Regions from separate parts of the Homo sapiens genome. Here all the other regions are linked to region 2. The links are contacts of gene promoters, found by promoter capture Hi-C in human tissues and cell types (Jung and others, 2019). All regions are on one chromosome and are shown on one strand. The core of a region is centred on a gene start or on the middle of the fragment in contact, and the rest is flanking DNA. Distances in the headings are between cores, read along the strand shown. Region 1 overlaps ACTR1A (actin related protein 1A). Region 2 holds the start of LDB1 (LIM domain binding 1). Region 3 overlaps SUFU (SUFU negative regulator of hedgehog signaling).

Evidence for each region. The method cuts DNA at HindIII sites, captures the fragments that hold promoters and counts their contacts. A contact is called where the count stands out against the background at its distance.
Region 1: a fragment that was not itself captured here is called in contact with the fragment with the promoter of LDB1 in region 2 in 2 of the 25 tissues and cell types used here (heart left ventricle and lymphoblastoid cells).
Region 3: a contact is called between a fragment that was not itself captured here and the fragment with the promoter of LDB1 in region 2, in 1 of the 25 tissues and cell types used here (adrenal gland).

The regions. Positions count from the first base shown.
Region 1 is chr10:102,484,287-102,488,652 of GRCh38, reverse strand. ACTR1A (actin related protein 1A) reads left to right here. Exons shown (of 11, transcript NM_005736.4): 4 at 378-503; 5 at 2,920-3,044; 6 at 4,277-4,366. Among named protein-coding and RNA genes, the nearest start is that of ACTR1A, 16 kb to the left of the region's middle. The HindIII fragment of the contact is 9,793 bases long and covers 1-4,366 here.
Region 2 is chr10:102,117,115-102,121,676 of GRCh38, reverse strand. It overlaps LDB1 (LIM domain binding 1), which reads left to right and starts at 1,309. Exons shown (of 11, transcript NM_001113407.3): 1 at 1,309-1,591. The coding sequence starts at 1,567. It also overlaps a transcript of PPRC1 not described here. RefSeq lists enhancers at 1-671, 672-1,423, 3,129-3,830, 3,831-4,533 and silencers at 920-1,049, 1,070-1,369, 1,430-1,509, 1,600-1,669, 4,003-4,242. The HindIII fragment of the contact is 10,982 bases long and covers 1-4,562 here.
Region 3 is chr10:102,591,246-102,595,622 of GRCh38, reverse strand. SUFU (SUFU negative regulator of hedgehog signaling) reads right to left here. Exons shown (of 12, transcript NM_016169.4): 4 at 2,899-3,041; 5 at 1,902-1,987; 6 at 1,558-1,630. It also overlaps the pseudogene RNU6-43P. Among named protein-coding and RNA genes, the nearest start is that of TRIM8-DT, 50 kb to the left of the region's middle. The HindIII fragment of the contact is 8,336 bases long and covers 1-4,377 here.

The sequences.
Region 1 (4,366 bases), core at 1,058-3,557, 370 kb before region 2:
AGCAGATAGCAGAATCGCTGTTGCCATCCTTGGCTTCAAGTGCTGAGGCCCAGAGGTGGGAGCCAGGAGATTGTGTCCTGGAACCAGGCAATGAGGAAGATGCCTCCTGCCACTTGCCCTAGAGGCACCTGAGGGGCCATGGAAATGCAGAAGCCCCTGCTTTGCCGGCTCCTCGGGAATGAGGGCAGTTTGCAGCAAACAGTATTTAGCCTTGGAGAATGAGTGCCCACCCTTAGCCCTGGGCAAGGACAGCAGGGTGGAAGCTCAGGAAGCTGAGGCTTCTTTGCAAGGGATTCAGCTTGCACTGCTTAGTCTTGGGAGAACAGGGTCCTGGGTGGAGCCTGACTGCAGTCGTAAGTCCTGTTCTCTTTTCCCAGGAGCACCGAGGGCTGCTTTCAATCCGCTATCCCATGGAGCATGGCATCGTCAAGGATTGGAACGACATGGAACGCATTTGGCAATATGTCTATTCTAAGGACCAGCTGCAGACTTTCTCAGAGGAGGTGAGGATCCTGTGTGTAGGGCACTCCTGTAGGGTATGCAAAGCTGTGTCAAACTCCTACCCTAGAGATGATGAGGAGGACGATGATCACTGCCAAGAGTGCTGGAGCCATTTGATTTTCAGGCATATTCAGATTTAATCTTAACACCATTCCTATGAGATATAGGTAGTATTATCTCATTTTACAAACAAGGGAACAAGTTCAGAAAAGCCAAGTCGTGGCCGGGCGCGGTGGCTCACACCTGTAATCCCAGCACTTTGGGAGGCCGAGGCGGGTGGATCACGAGGTCAGGAGATCGAGACCATCCTGGCTAACACGGTGAAACCCTGTCTCCACTAAAAATACAAAAAATTCTCCGGGCGTGGTGGCGGGCGCCTGTAGTCCCAGCTACTCCGGAGGCTGAGGCAGGAGAATGGCGTGAACCCGGGAGGCGGAGCTTGCAGTGAGCCGAGATTGCGCCACTGTGCTCCAGCCTGGGTGACAGAGTGAGACTCCGTCCCAAAAAAAAAAAAAAAAAAGAAAAGCCAAGTGGTATTTCCAAGGTCACCAAGTGAACAAAGGGTAGAGATGGAATTCAAACCTATGTCTTTTAGAATTCAAAGCCTGTGCTCATTAACTTCTTTCACCCAGACTGGAGTGCAATAGCTCACTGCAGCCTCGACCTCCTGGGCTCAAGTAATCCTCCCATCTCAGCCCCACCCCCCACCATGCCCGGCTAATTTTGTGTGTGTGTGTGTGGTGGGGTTTTGCTCTTGTTGGCCAGGCTGGAGTGCAATGGCGTGATCTAGGCTCACTGCAACCTCTGCCTCCCGGATTCAAATGATTCTCCTGCCTCAGCTTCCCAAGTAGCTGGGATTACAGCATGAGCCATGGCACCTGGCAAATTTTGTATTTTTTGTAGAGACAAGGTTTTGCCATGTTGCCCAGGCTGGTCTCGAACTCCTGGGTTCAGGCAATCTATCCGCCTCCACCTCTCAAAGTGCTGGGATTACAGGCGTGAGCCACCTTGTGCAGCCTGTGCTTATTAACTTGTAAGGAAGTAACTCTCCATTCAAAAATGTAAAGGGAGGCTGGTCACTGTGGGTCATGCCTGTAATCCCAGCACTTTGGGTGGATCTCTTGAGCTCAGGAGTTTGAGACCAAGTTGGGCAGCATGGCGAAACACCACCTCTACTAAAAATATGAAAAAAAAAAAAATAGCCGGGTACAGTGGTGCGTGCCTGTAGTCCCAGCTACTTGAAATGATGAGGTGGGAGGACTGCTTGAGCCTGGGGGCATCGAGGTTGCAGTAAGCCAAGATCGCACCACTGAACTCGCAGCCTGGTGACAGAGTGAGACCTTGTCTCAAAAAAAAAAAAAGAAAGAAAGAAAATGCAGAGAGGTGCAGACTAGGTGTATCAATTTCCAGGTGCAGGTGGGATGTTTTCAGTTTTGGGTTTTTTTTGTTTGCTTTTTTGAGATGGAGTTTCGCTCTTGTGGCCTAGGCTAGAGTGCAATGGCGCAATCTCGGCTCACCGCAACCTCTGCCTCCCAGGTTCAAGCGATTCTCCTGCCTGAGCCTTCCTGAGTAGCTGGGATTACAGGCATGCACCACCACCAAGCCCGGCTAATTTTGTATTTTTAGTAGAGACGGGGTTTCTCCATGTTGGTCAGGCTGGTCTCGAACTCCCGACCTCAGATGATCCGCACGCCTCAGCCTCCCAAGGTGCTGGGATTACAGGTGTGAGCCACCACGCCCGGCTGTTTTCAGACAGTTTTTTTAAAGCAGTGGTCCCCAACCTTTCTGGCACCAGGGACTAGTTTCTTGGAAGACAGTTTTTCCATGGGGGTGGGGGTTTGGGGTGGCCAGATAGTTTCAGGATGAAGCTGTTCCACCTCTGATCATCAGGCATTCAATTCTCATAAGGAGTGCCCAACCTAGATCCCTCACATGCGCAGTTCACAGTAGGGTTCACACTCCTATGAGAATCTAGTGCCTTGGATGATCTGATGGGAGGTGGAGCTCAGACAATAATGCTCGCTTACCTGCCATTCACCTCCTGCTGTGCAGCCTGGTTCCTAACAGGTCACAGACTAGAACTGGTCTGCGGCAGGAATTTAGAGTTTCACAAAATCTTCTTGACAGTTGGAGATACACAGTAGACACAGGGGCCTGTATAACAATCTTGGAGGACAAGGAGGGGAGTTGGGGGGCACAGCTGAGGACAGAATGAAATTTTAAAGTGGGCATTAACTTGAAAAGTTGAGAAAACTACTTGGGCAGGGATAGTTGACAGGCACAGCTTGCCTTTTTTTGGAGTGAGGCTGACTGAAGTCCCCGGGCTCTCAAACCAGCAAGGCAGGGTCTTCTCCCCTAAGACTAATGAAGATGGAAATCTGGCCTTGGCCTCATTGTCTCCCGGGCTCCTTTCACCAGCATCCTGTGCTCCTGACTGAGGCGCCTTTAAACCCACGAAAAAACCGGGAACGAGCTGCCGAAGTTTTCTTCGAGACCTTCAATGTGCCCGCTCTTTTCATCTCCATGCAAGCTGTACTCAGCCTGTGAGTAGCAGCTGGCTAGCCCGGCCCCTGCGGGGAAAGCAGTCCTTTGGCACAGCTGAGGCTGGCTCTCCTCTGGAATGGTTCAGAGTAACTTGAGCCCCCTCTGCTAGGGAAAGGTTAAAGATGGTGGGAAAGAGAGAGAGGCTTTTGCTGAAACTGAGCACTGAGGCTTCGTAGTTGAAAGCAAAGAAGGACATGTGGCTGCTATTGACCATATCCCAGTGTCAGGACTCCTAGTGGGTTTGGTCCCCAAGGCCTTGGCTGGGCCTGCCGAGGCAGCCACATGCTGCAGCAGCTCTTCCCGGAGGCCCCCGTAATGTGTCCACTTATTATTCAGCACTTACTGTGGCCAGCTGCTCTGCCAGGCTGTGAGACAACCATGATCCGAATGCCACCACAGTCCTTGTTCCCATCCCCCGTGGCTCCTGTCACACTCCTACCCCACCTCACACCAGAGTGAGGTCTACGGCAGAGATTATCCACAAGTGACCTACACGTGGGATTTATTTGACCCCATTAACAAACTGTGAGCCAGCATTTAAAAATCAAGAGGTGTCCCATCAAAACCCAAATTTTTGGCTTCTCTGAAAAAATGGGAAGATCTGGGAAGGTCGGGCACACATTCCCACAGGGCAAAAATCAGCTGGAGCTGAAGAGCGGCTGCCACTTGAGATGGGGCTGGCAAGCCCACCCTCCCCACAGCCTGTCCATGCTCTGTTGGCCTCTCCGCACTGAAGCAGGGGGTCAGTTGCCTCACTTGCCTTTTTTTGGAGGGAGGCTGACAAAGGTCCCCGGGCTCTCAAACCAGTAAAGCAGGGTCTTCTCCTGCCTTTGTTTTTTATGGAAGTGAAAAATATTCTTATTTTTCTTTACTCTTACTTTTCCTGCCTGGCCCCTGTTGACATTTGAGGGTTTTTGCCTTTTGTCTAGAGAGTTAAAACTGGCCCCTAGGCTGGGTCTCTGAAGCAGCTGAAGGCCAGGCCATCTCAGACAGGAAGGCCTGCTCTTCTGGGTACGGGGAGGGAACTTGGAGAAGATCAGCAACTTCCGTTCAGGTATTTCATGGCTTGCTCCAACACCTGGGCTTCCTTAGTACCCAGTCCATTCTACAGACCCTGGAGAGAGGCAGGCCCAAGCTTTAGTTTAGCTGACATTGAACCCTAAATAAAGAAGTGTATTTCTTCCCAGCGTGAGGAGGCAGTGCTGAGTGACGGTTTGCCCCTTTGCTTCAGTTACGCTACAGGCAGGACCACAGGGGTGGTGCTGGATTCTGGGGATGGAGTCACCCATGCTGTGCCCATCTATGAGGGCTTTGCCATGCC
Region 2 (4,562 bases), core at 60-2,559:
GCTGGGGACCCCAGGAGGGAGGGGGTCAACTCTCTACTCCAGGCGGCTCCCCTCCCTTCCCTCCTCCTGGCTAATAGGTATTTCCTGTTTATGAGGCAGCTAAAGCTGAGCTTTTGGGAAGGGATGGAGATGGAGCCCCTCCCCTCCTAGGGCTGGGTTGGGGAGTCCTTGAAGTGTGACTGAAGGTTGGGAGGCTCCTCCCAGGGGAAGGAGTGTTCCTTACATTGACCATCCACATCATCTCCCATCCAACCCCCCACGGCCCACAGCCTCTGCCTCTCTGGGTTAGGGGGCACTGGAGGGGCCTGTTTCCTGTTCTCATCTCCGAAGCCCTCAAAGGACAGCAGCTTCCAGGCAGGGGGGTCGGAGGCGGTGGGGTTGGGCGGTTGGTACGGAGGTGAAGGCACCAAGGCTGGAGAAAGGGGGGAAGGGAAGAGAGTGTCTTGACTGATGCGTCAGTCTGCAAGAAGGAAGGATGGCCTCCTATCGCCCCTCCGTAATCCAATCTGGTGGTCATTCCGCAGCCCCCTCCCCCCAGCAAAACACAGATCCCAAGCCCTTAGGCGGAGGAGGGCGGGGACCCCACTTAATTAACCCTTTTAGTTCTAGTCCCAACTGGTTTCGCAGGCAAAGGAGGAGTGGTTAATTTAGGGAAGGGGTGAGTTGAGGGGTTGCTACAAGAATTAAGAGAATGCTTCTTTACCCATCCAGCCTAGGGTAGGGACGCGAAACAAGGGGCCTCCAGAAGAAGGCTGGCGTCTCAGCAGGGAGCACGGACAGGGGGTCTGCAGTCCCTTTTCCCTCCCGGAGCGCGGCCCGGGGTGGAGAGAGATACACCACACTGCCCACCCCGGCTCCGCCTCCCCCAGCCGCGGCTCCCGCTCCGGCTCAGCCAGACTCCCCATCCGGCGGCACCCGGAGGACGGACACCGAGCGCGCGGCTGCGCCTCCAAGCCCTCCCCTTCGCCCTCCCTCTCTGGGGTCTCTGCCTCCGTCTCCTTTTTTAAAAGCTGCGTCACATGCATGCCGTTCCCCGAGCGCTCCCAGCCCCTCGCCGCCCGCCCGCCGCGCGGCGCACGCACGTCGTCGCTTGCTGCGCGCTCTCCCGGGTCACTTTGACACGGCTCTCCCCTCCCACTAGCAGGACAATTAGCATATTAATAAAGCCCGGCCCTGCCCGGCTTGGGCTGGGGAGCCGGCGCCGGCGCGAGGGAGCGCGAGCGCGAGGGCGGAGAGGGGGGCGCTCGGCGACGGCGGCGGGAGCGCACAGACACGCACACGCACACGCGCACACACGCACACACGGACACACACTCCGCGGACTCACACCCGCGCGCACACACGCAGAGGCCGCTCGCCTTCCTGCCTGGCTTCCTTCCTGTCTGCTCCGCGCCTGACAGGCCCCTCGCCGCAGCCAGGGGCCGCCCGCACCGGGCCGAGGCCGGGCCGGGCCGGCGGCGAGCGCAGCGGGGGCCGCGGGCGGCGGCGGCGGCTCATGCCCGGCCTGTCCCCGCGAGGGGCGGGCACCGTGACTCGGCTGGGCCCCCAGAGGCGGGCGATGTGAAGATGTCAGTGGGCTGTGCCTGTCCTGGTGAGTGGGGCGTGCGGCCACTCGGCCCCTTCCTGCCCAGCCGTCCCTGCGGACCCCTCACCCCGTGTTTGGCGAGAACTTGTGTGGGGGGCGTCGATGGCATGGGGGAAGCCGGGGGCTGGAAGGGCTACGCGGGGCCTCAGGCTGGCGGGTAGCGTTTTCCCCAACTGTGTAAATGCGCAGCAGCCCAGAAACACGGGGAGGAGACGCTGGGGGTGGCTTATGTGTATGTTTTTTTGGGGGTAGGCTAATTGGGGAGAGGTTTGGGGGGGGCTGAAATTCTCAGAATTCCAGGTTGTTAGCCAATCAGAAGTGACTCTGGACTTTTGACCCCCCCCCTCAGGTCACCATAGAGTTGTGATTGGCTGGTTTGGGCTGCCCCCCCTTCCCTGCTGCCCATTGCCTCTTACCTATCCTGTGACATCCCCCCCATGCTGTTTCTGAGGACCCTGTTTGCAGGGAGGTATTGATTGCGGCCCATCTTGCCCCCCACCTTCAACTTTTCCTGCCTGTTGCCAGGGAAGGTTGGCCCTCCTGAGGCACCGGAGGTACTCCTAAGAGGTGCCAGATAATTGGACCCTTGGGTCTGGCATCTCCGCCCTAGTGGGAGGGCAGGCTAGGAAATAGAGTGATTTGTGGAGAGGTAAGCTGGGGGAGCAATACTTGACCCAAAACTGAGAACTTGAGAGAGGACCCAGGCTCAGATCCCTGCCTCCCCAAAACATATCAGCTCTTGCCAGGGATAGCCTAGGTCTGAGTTTTTTTCCTGGGGGGCAGGTGGGGGGGGCGGAGGGCGTCTACCTCACTGCCAGGAGGAAAGAGAGAAGCCATGCGACTGGAGAGGTAGTCTACAGAGGGCCTCACGGCACACTGTCTGTCTCCATCCCCGGGACTCTGGGTCCTGGAATTGGCCCTCCTGCCCCAGACTGGAGTCAGCTTTCTCCTGGAAGTCAGTGTCCCTGAATGTAGCCCGCTTTGGCTACATACTTCACAGCTGGACACCCACCACTCCCCCACAAATCCCCAAGGGAAGCTGCCAGTGCGGAAGCTTCCTTGAAAATCATGTGACCCAGGCCAAGCTGGGCTGGGCACACACTTCAGGTGCCTGCTGAGGCTGATGTCTAAGGGGCATGGGTCCCAGAAGGAGGAATAAGAGAACCTAACAATCCTAGAATATCCGAGTATGGGAACCACTGGCTCCTGCTGCAGAGGGTTGGGGAGAGGAGAGGGAAGAGCTTGCCAAGCTGGAATCCTGTCTGGCCCCGTCGTCCCTCTTTCTACCAGCTTGGTGTACATGTTTATGTTGTGGATTTTCTCCTTTATAATTGACCCATGCTGGGTACCCCTTTCAGATCCATCATGTTCTTAGCCCACCCCAGGGCCCTGACCCTCCATCAACACACATGAGCAGAGCAGTTAAACTAAGGATCTGAACAAGCTAGAGGGATGAGTCTTAAATTGTGATTCTTAGTTCCTACAAATAGTGGGTAAGCGGGTATGTATGTATGGAGGGGTTGTCAGGCTGGAGGTGGATGGGAGGTTGGCCCTGAAGTTGGGGCAGGGTGCCTGGGTCCAGTGGGAGGAGAGAGAAAATCTCTTCTTCTTAGTCTCTGGGAGCAGCATGGGAACAGGAAGAGGGCCCAAGCCCAGGGGTTTGTGGGTGGGTGGGAAGACAACTTCAGTCAATGCCCCAGAAGGCATGTTCCTTTTGTGTCTGGTGGTCTGACTGAGGGAGAGAGGGCAAAAGATAGGGAAGAGTGGGGAGTCTTTTTCCAGATCATGAAGAAGTCTTATAGATTGATGCCAAAGAGGGTGGATGGAGGTTAGACTTCAAGGAGAACCACATGGGGAGGGCTTCAGAGTAGACTGGAGGTGGGGAATAGTAGCAGTTGAGGTTAGAGAGGGGACCTGGCTTGCAGCTTGCTTGGATGGGGGAGCACATGCTTGAACACAAGGAAGGCATGGCAGCATGTAGCAGTCCAGGCCCAAAGATTTCCCCCACCTTGAGCAGCCCTGGGGTGAGGGCTGAGGCGCCCTGGCAGGCCGCCTGCCGCCTGCCTGCCTGCCTGTCTGAGTCTCTCCTTTGTGTTCTGCTGTCTCCGGGCTCCTCCTCCTCCCCCAGCCCGGCAGAGACAGCACATGCCCCACACATGTGACTGAGGGAAGCCAGAGCGCACACAGACCCACACACATGCACACGCAGAAGCACCACAAGATACACACATACACATGCCCAACACCCATATTGCTCCTGGGGTGAGGACCAGCTTCTGGGGCTGGAATGGCTGGGAGCAGGGAGAGCCTCTGACTAAGGGGCATCACCCTGAGCAAGAGGCTGAGGGGGCCAGGGCCTGTCTGGGGCAGCATGTGGCTCAGAAGGGTTAAGGCAGGGAGGAGTAGGGGGAGGGGAGGAGGCAGCAGTGGTGGCGGCTGGGAGCCAGGAGAGGAGGATGGCAGAGCGCCAGGCCAACGGGAGGCCGGGCACAGACAAAGGAAGGGGGGCAGGCACACTGGAGGCCTGGGTCAGGGAGCCCCAGGGGCCCGGGCAGGGGGCAGTGCTGGTACCTCATCCTGTGGGCTGGGGCTGGCTGCTGTCCTTTGAGTCCCCACCTCCAGGAGGAGTACTTTCCCTCATCATCTTTGTCATTATTTGCTGCTCCCTCCACCTCACCACCAATTCTAAGGCCTTCTAACTCAGACTTGCTCTTTTTAGCTGGACCTGTTCTGCCCCTGTGCAACTGGGTAAATCTGGTCAGAGCAGAGAAAGGAGCAGACTTGCTAGAGAATAACTAGAAGGCCTGTTTTGAATGGTTTGCCAGTCGATACATCTTGGCATTTAGGGGCCCCTCCACCCCACAGCGAGACTGGAGGGCCCTTGTAGTCCCTCCTGTCTGAGGAGACAGGGTGGGTGTGGGGTTCTGAGCTCTGGGCTGGAGGCAAAAGCCAGAGCACATTTCCCCCTCCCCATGAG
Region 3 (4,377 bases), core at 994-3,493, 470 kb before region 2:
TCAGGGGATCCTGCAGACTAGGAAGAACAGCCCTTGGCATGGAAGGACAGCTGTTTACCCTACTAGTGCAAAGGACCAGGTTCTTTCTTAGTACTTGGCACTTATGACAGGGGCCAAACAACGGCCCACAGTGCCCCATGCTGGATCCCAGTGTGGCTACAGAACAAGGGCTTAGGGAAAGATAGCCTTCCTGGTTCCTGGTTCTTGCATATGCAGAAGATACAAGGAAACCAAGTTTAAAGCAGAGAGAACAGAGGATCCTGGCAGCAGTTTGAAATGTTCAGTGTTAAAGGCACTAGGAAAACAGAGGAGCATCATCTGTGAATGAAGAGGATTTATGCCCAAGAACTCACAAGTCTACAGTGAAGAACTCAGGGGCTGCTGGCTACATGTCCATCTGCCACCTTTCTCTTGCTCTAACACATGGAACTCCCGGCAACTGCCTGTGGCCTACCAGATATTTTACAGAAGCATGGCAGGTTTAGAGATGGCAATGACCTGCATTTGGTCAGGGGAGTAGAAGGAGCCAGACACCAGGCAGGTAACATTATTAGCTGTCTGTGGCTCCTGCTTCAAGAGAAGCCCATAAGAAAGGCAGTTATGGGCCAGGCGCACTAGCTCAAACCTGTAATCCCAGCACTTTGGGAGGCCGAGGCGGGCGGATCATCTGAGGTCAAGAGTTCGAGACCAGCCTGGCCAACATGGTGAAACCCTGTCTCTACTAAAAATACAAAAAATTATCTGGGCGTGGTGGTGGGCGCCTGTAATCTCAGCTACTCGGGAGGCTGAGGCAGGAGAACTGCTTGACCCTGGGAGGCGGAGGCTGCAGTAAGCCGAGATTGTGCCACTGCACTCCAGGCTGGGTGAGAAGAGCGAAACTCCGTCTCAAAAAAAGAAAAGGCAGTTACGTTCTTGTGGCTTTCAAACTTTACCTGCATGACAAAGGAATGCTTCTAAAACAGCAAAGATGACACTGAAACAATGTCCAGGTGGGCCACAGGGAGTGGGCAGCTGCCAGCCTGTGTGTCTAAGGTGCCAATCTTTCCAGGCTAGGAGCTCTGCATCTGACTGTCCAAGATAGAAAATGTGGCGAAAATGGGGATAGGACCATTAGACCAATCAGCCCTCACTCCTGCAGCTGAGCCATGGAGTCAGTATCACCTACACTACTGTCTGGTACAGGGCGGTGGTGGCCGTGGTGGCTCCCTAAAAGAAAGTCTGGGAGGCAGGAGAATGAATACTGGGCAAGCAAGCAATATCCACTACACTTATCTTTTATTGCTGGCAATCTAATTTTTTAAGCCAATATATAATTTACATACAATAAAAATATCCTTTTAAAATGCCAAAATACATATGTCTGAGGACTAGCTTTCCTGGGCTGAAACCTCTGCTCCCTACGTGCTCTGCAGAATTCAGGGGACAAGTTCCAAGTGATGCCATATTTCTACTCACTCACACATAAAGGTCCTCTGTTTTCCCAGGATGAAAGCCAGTGTTATTTGGAAGAGGCCTAGGCACAGGGTGCTAGAAAGGTTTTCCTCACTCAAGACATACTTGCAGGTGTGGATCGATCTCAAATATGGTCTCTCCCCTCCGCATGTCAGTTATCAGCCAGGGGCCGCCAGCACTGTGGACAAGGAAAGGGGATACAATGGTAACTGAGGGTCTGGGGCTGATGGGCTGGGCCTACAGCCTGCCCTGTTTGCTGCCCCAGGCCTAGGACACAGGGGAATAGTTCGTGGTCAGGGACTGTCAGGGAGTGAGTCGTCAGGAAGCCCTGATGTGAAAAACCAGGGTCTGAAATAACAACGCAAGAGGGAGCCCCACATGGAGGGTAGTGGAGGGACTCCCACCCCCAGGCCCAGGGAGCCGCGCTCCCACCTTGCATGGGTACTCACATAGGCACTGTCCGCAGCAGCTCCAGGATGCCCTGCCCGTTCCACTGCTGGGCTGAGTGTAGCTCTTCAGTGCAGACACCAACGATCTGAGGCCCAGGATAGAAAGCCCATTGTGTGTTAATGGCCACCCCCCACCCCAAGAAGGTCAGCTACCCAGGCTCTCTGAGTCACCTCCAGTTGGGAGACCACAGGCAGGATCTGTGCTCAGGAGCTGGTGCAGCCAAGATTGGATGATTCCCTTAGGAGGGAGTGGCTGCCTGGCTGGGAAATGGCTGGGTCCACATGTGGGCCCTGAGGCCTGACCCTTGCCCTTGCTGTGTCTGGATGACACCAAGTCTAGCTCTTAGCTACAAAGGAGAAAACCAAGGCCTGAGCAACTCAAGATGTGTCCTCAGGCCATGTCTCTGGAAGTAGGGGAGGTTCAGGGAGCCATTCCTACCCAGTCTGGTATCATGGGGAATGTAAACAAGAGACTTTGAGACCTATCAGGCTTGGAACCACCACCAATAGGTCATAGCAGCCTGCAGAGAAACTCCTCCCTTCCTTATTAGGGGATAGGCCTTTGTGTAAATATCAAGGGAATCAGTGGAACCTTCACATAGACTTCGTGACCAAAAACAAGCACTGGTCAAAGCTGGGCAGGTTCCCACAGCTTCTGGCAAAGAGCAAGGACGACCCAGAGCTGGCTTCCCGCTGGAAAGTCCTGTTCCTGAGACTGGGTCTTCACTGTTCAAAGAATACCCGCCACCCCATTACTCCCTCTCAGCTACAGCCATTCTCTCCCAACCAAATGCCCCCTTCCCTTTCTCCCCTCTCCCATCTCAGCAGGTTAAATCAGACCATCTGAATCTACCTGACAAACCATCAGAGGAAACAGAAATCAGGACGAGGCCAAAGGAAACCTCCCACTCCCTTCACTCCCCCTCCTCAAGCCTCCTTGTCCTCCCAGGACCCTTCCCACAGGAAGGCTTGAGCCAGCGTCCAACCTGTGCCTCACCTGGAGGAAGGTAACTACCCCAAAGGGTGTCTGCACGGGCTGCATCTGTGGGTCCTCTGTCAGCAGCATGTGCTGAATTCTTGACTCACTGTTATCCAAAGGGCTGTGCCAGGACACATGGTCCCCACTGCAGAAGGTGTTCTCTGTGGGAGAGATACAAGGATCCTCATTGTTCAAGGCCCCAGATCCAGGCCTGGAATCTGGGCTGGGATCTCACTAGCCCAGGCTGGGAGGCTTCCCAGCCTCTTAGGGTAGCCCCTGTGAAGGAAGAGAAGCATTCACTCCGGATGGAAGCAAAGAGTTTGTGGATATTTCCAAAAACCTAAATTGTTCCTGCTTGCCAGTTCTGTCAGACTTGAAAAGGACAGGCTATTAGTGTGAAAGCTCCTTCGGCCTGGGAAACCAGAAAGACTTCTGGCATCTGCTTCGCTTCCCCAATATCCCGACTCATGGTGGGAGGCAGGAGCCATGACTGGATCTGCCAAGAAAGAATAAGGTGCTTTTCTGTAGGGCCACCTGGCCAGAAGTCCACAGAGAGGCAACAGGGCAATGAAAGCCCTTCACCTTGGAGAAACAGACCGAAATTCCTATGTTGCTGAAATGGCACTCAGAAGGAAACATCGAACCTTGGAGAGCCTTTGAAATCTATCACCATTTTCCCACAGGCAGATGTAGGAATTCCTGAGGAACACTAGGCTTCAAGTAAATGGAGGTCTAAATAGTGCCTCCCACACCGTGGCAGAGACAACTCATGAGGATCCTCAGGCCATGTCTCTGAGATGTTCAGATTCTGCCAAGGGTAGCTGTTGCCATGAGGGCATAGCCTCCTCACACACAGGCTCACCACTGCACTTCAAGCAGGTACGTTACTTTAGAGAGAGTTTTGTTTAAGGCCACATAACCACAAGGGAAAACAACCCCACAGGGTACTAAGTCTCTCACCAGCTCTGACTCTCATCGTGGGTGCCAAGGTGCTCTATATGTCCAGCCTATGCATCCACAGGCTCCCTTCCATGTTTTGTCCTTACACAAATGGAAGCACACTATTCTGCAGATTTCACTTAATTATATATCTTAGACAGCACCTTTTTTTTTTTAATATGGAACACTTCACGAATTTGCATGTCATCCTTGCGCAGGGGCCATACTAATCTTCTCTGTATCGTTCCAATTTTAGTATATGTGCTGCTGAAGTGAGCACGAGATCACCTTTTTTTTTTTTTTTTGAGATGGAGTCTCGCTCTGTTGCCAGGCTGCAGTGCAGTGGCGCGATCTCTGCTCACTGCAACCTCCGCCTCCTGGGTTCAAGCGATTCTCCTGCCTCAGCCTCCTGAGTAGCTGGGATTACTGGCATGTGCCACCACACCTGGCTAATTTTTTGTATTTTTAGTAGAGGTGGGATTTCACGGTGTTAGCCAGGATGGCCTCGATCTCCTGACCTCGTGATCCGCCCTCCTCGGCCTCCCAAAGTGCGGGGAT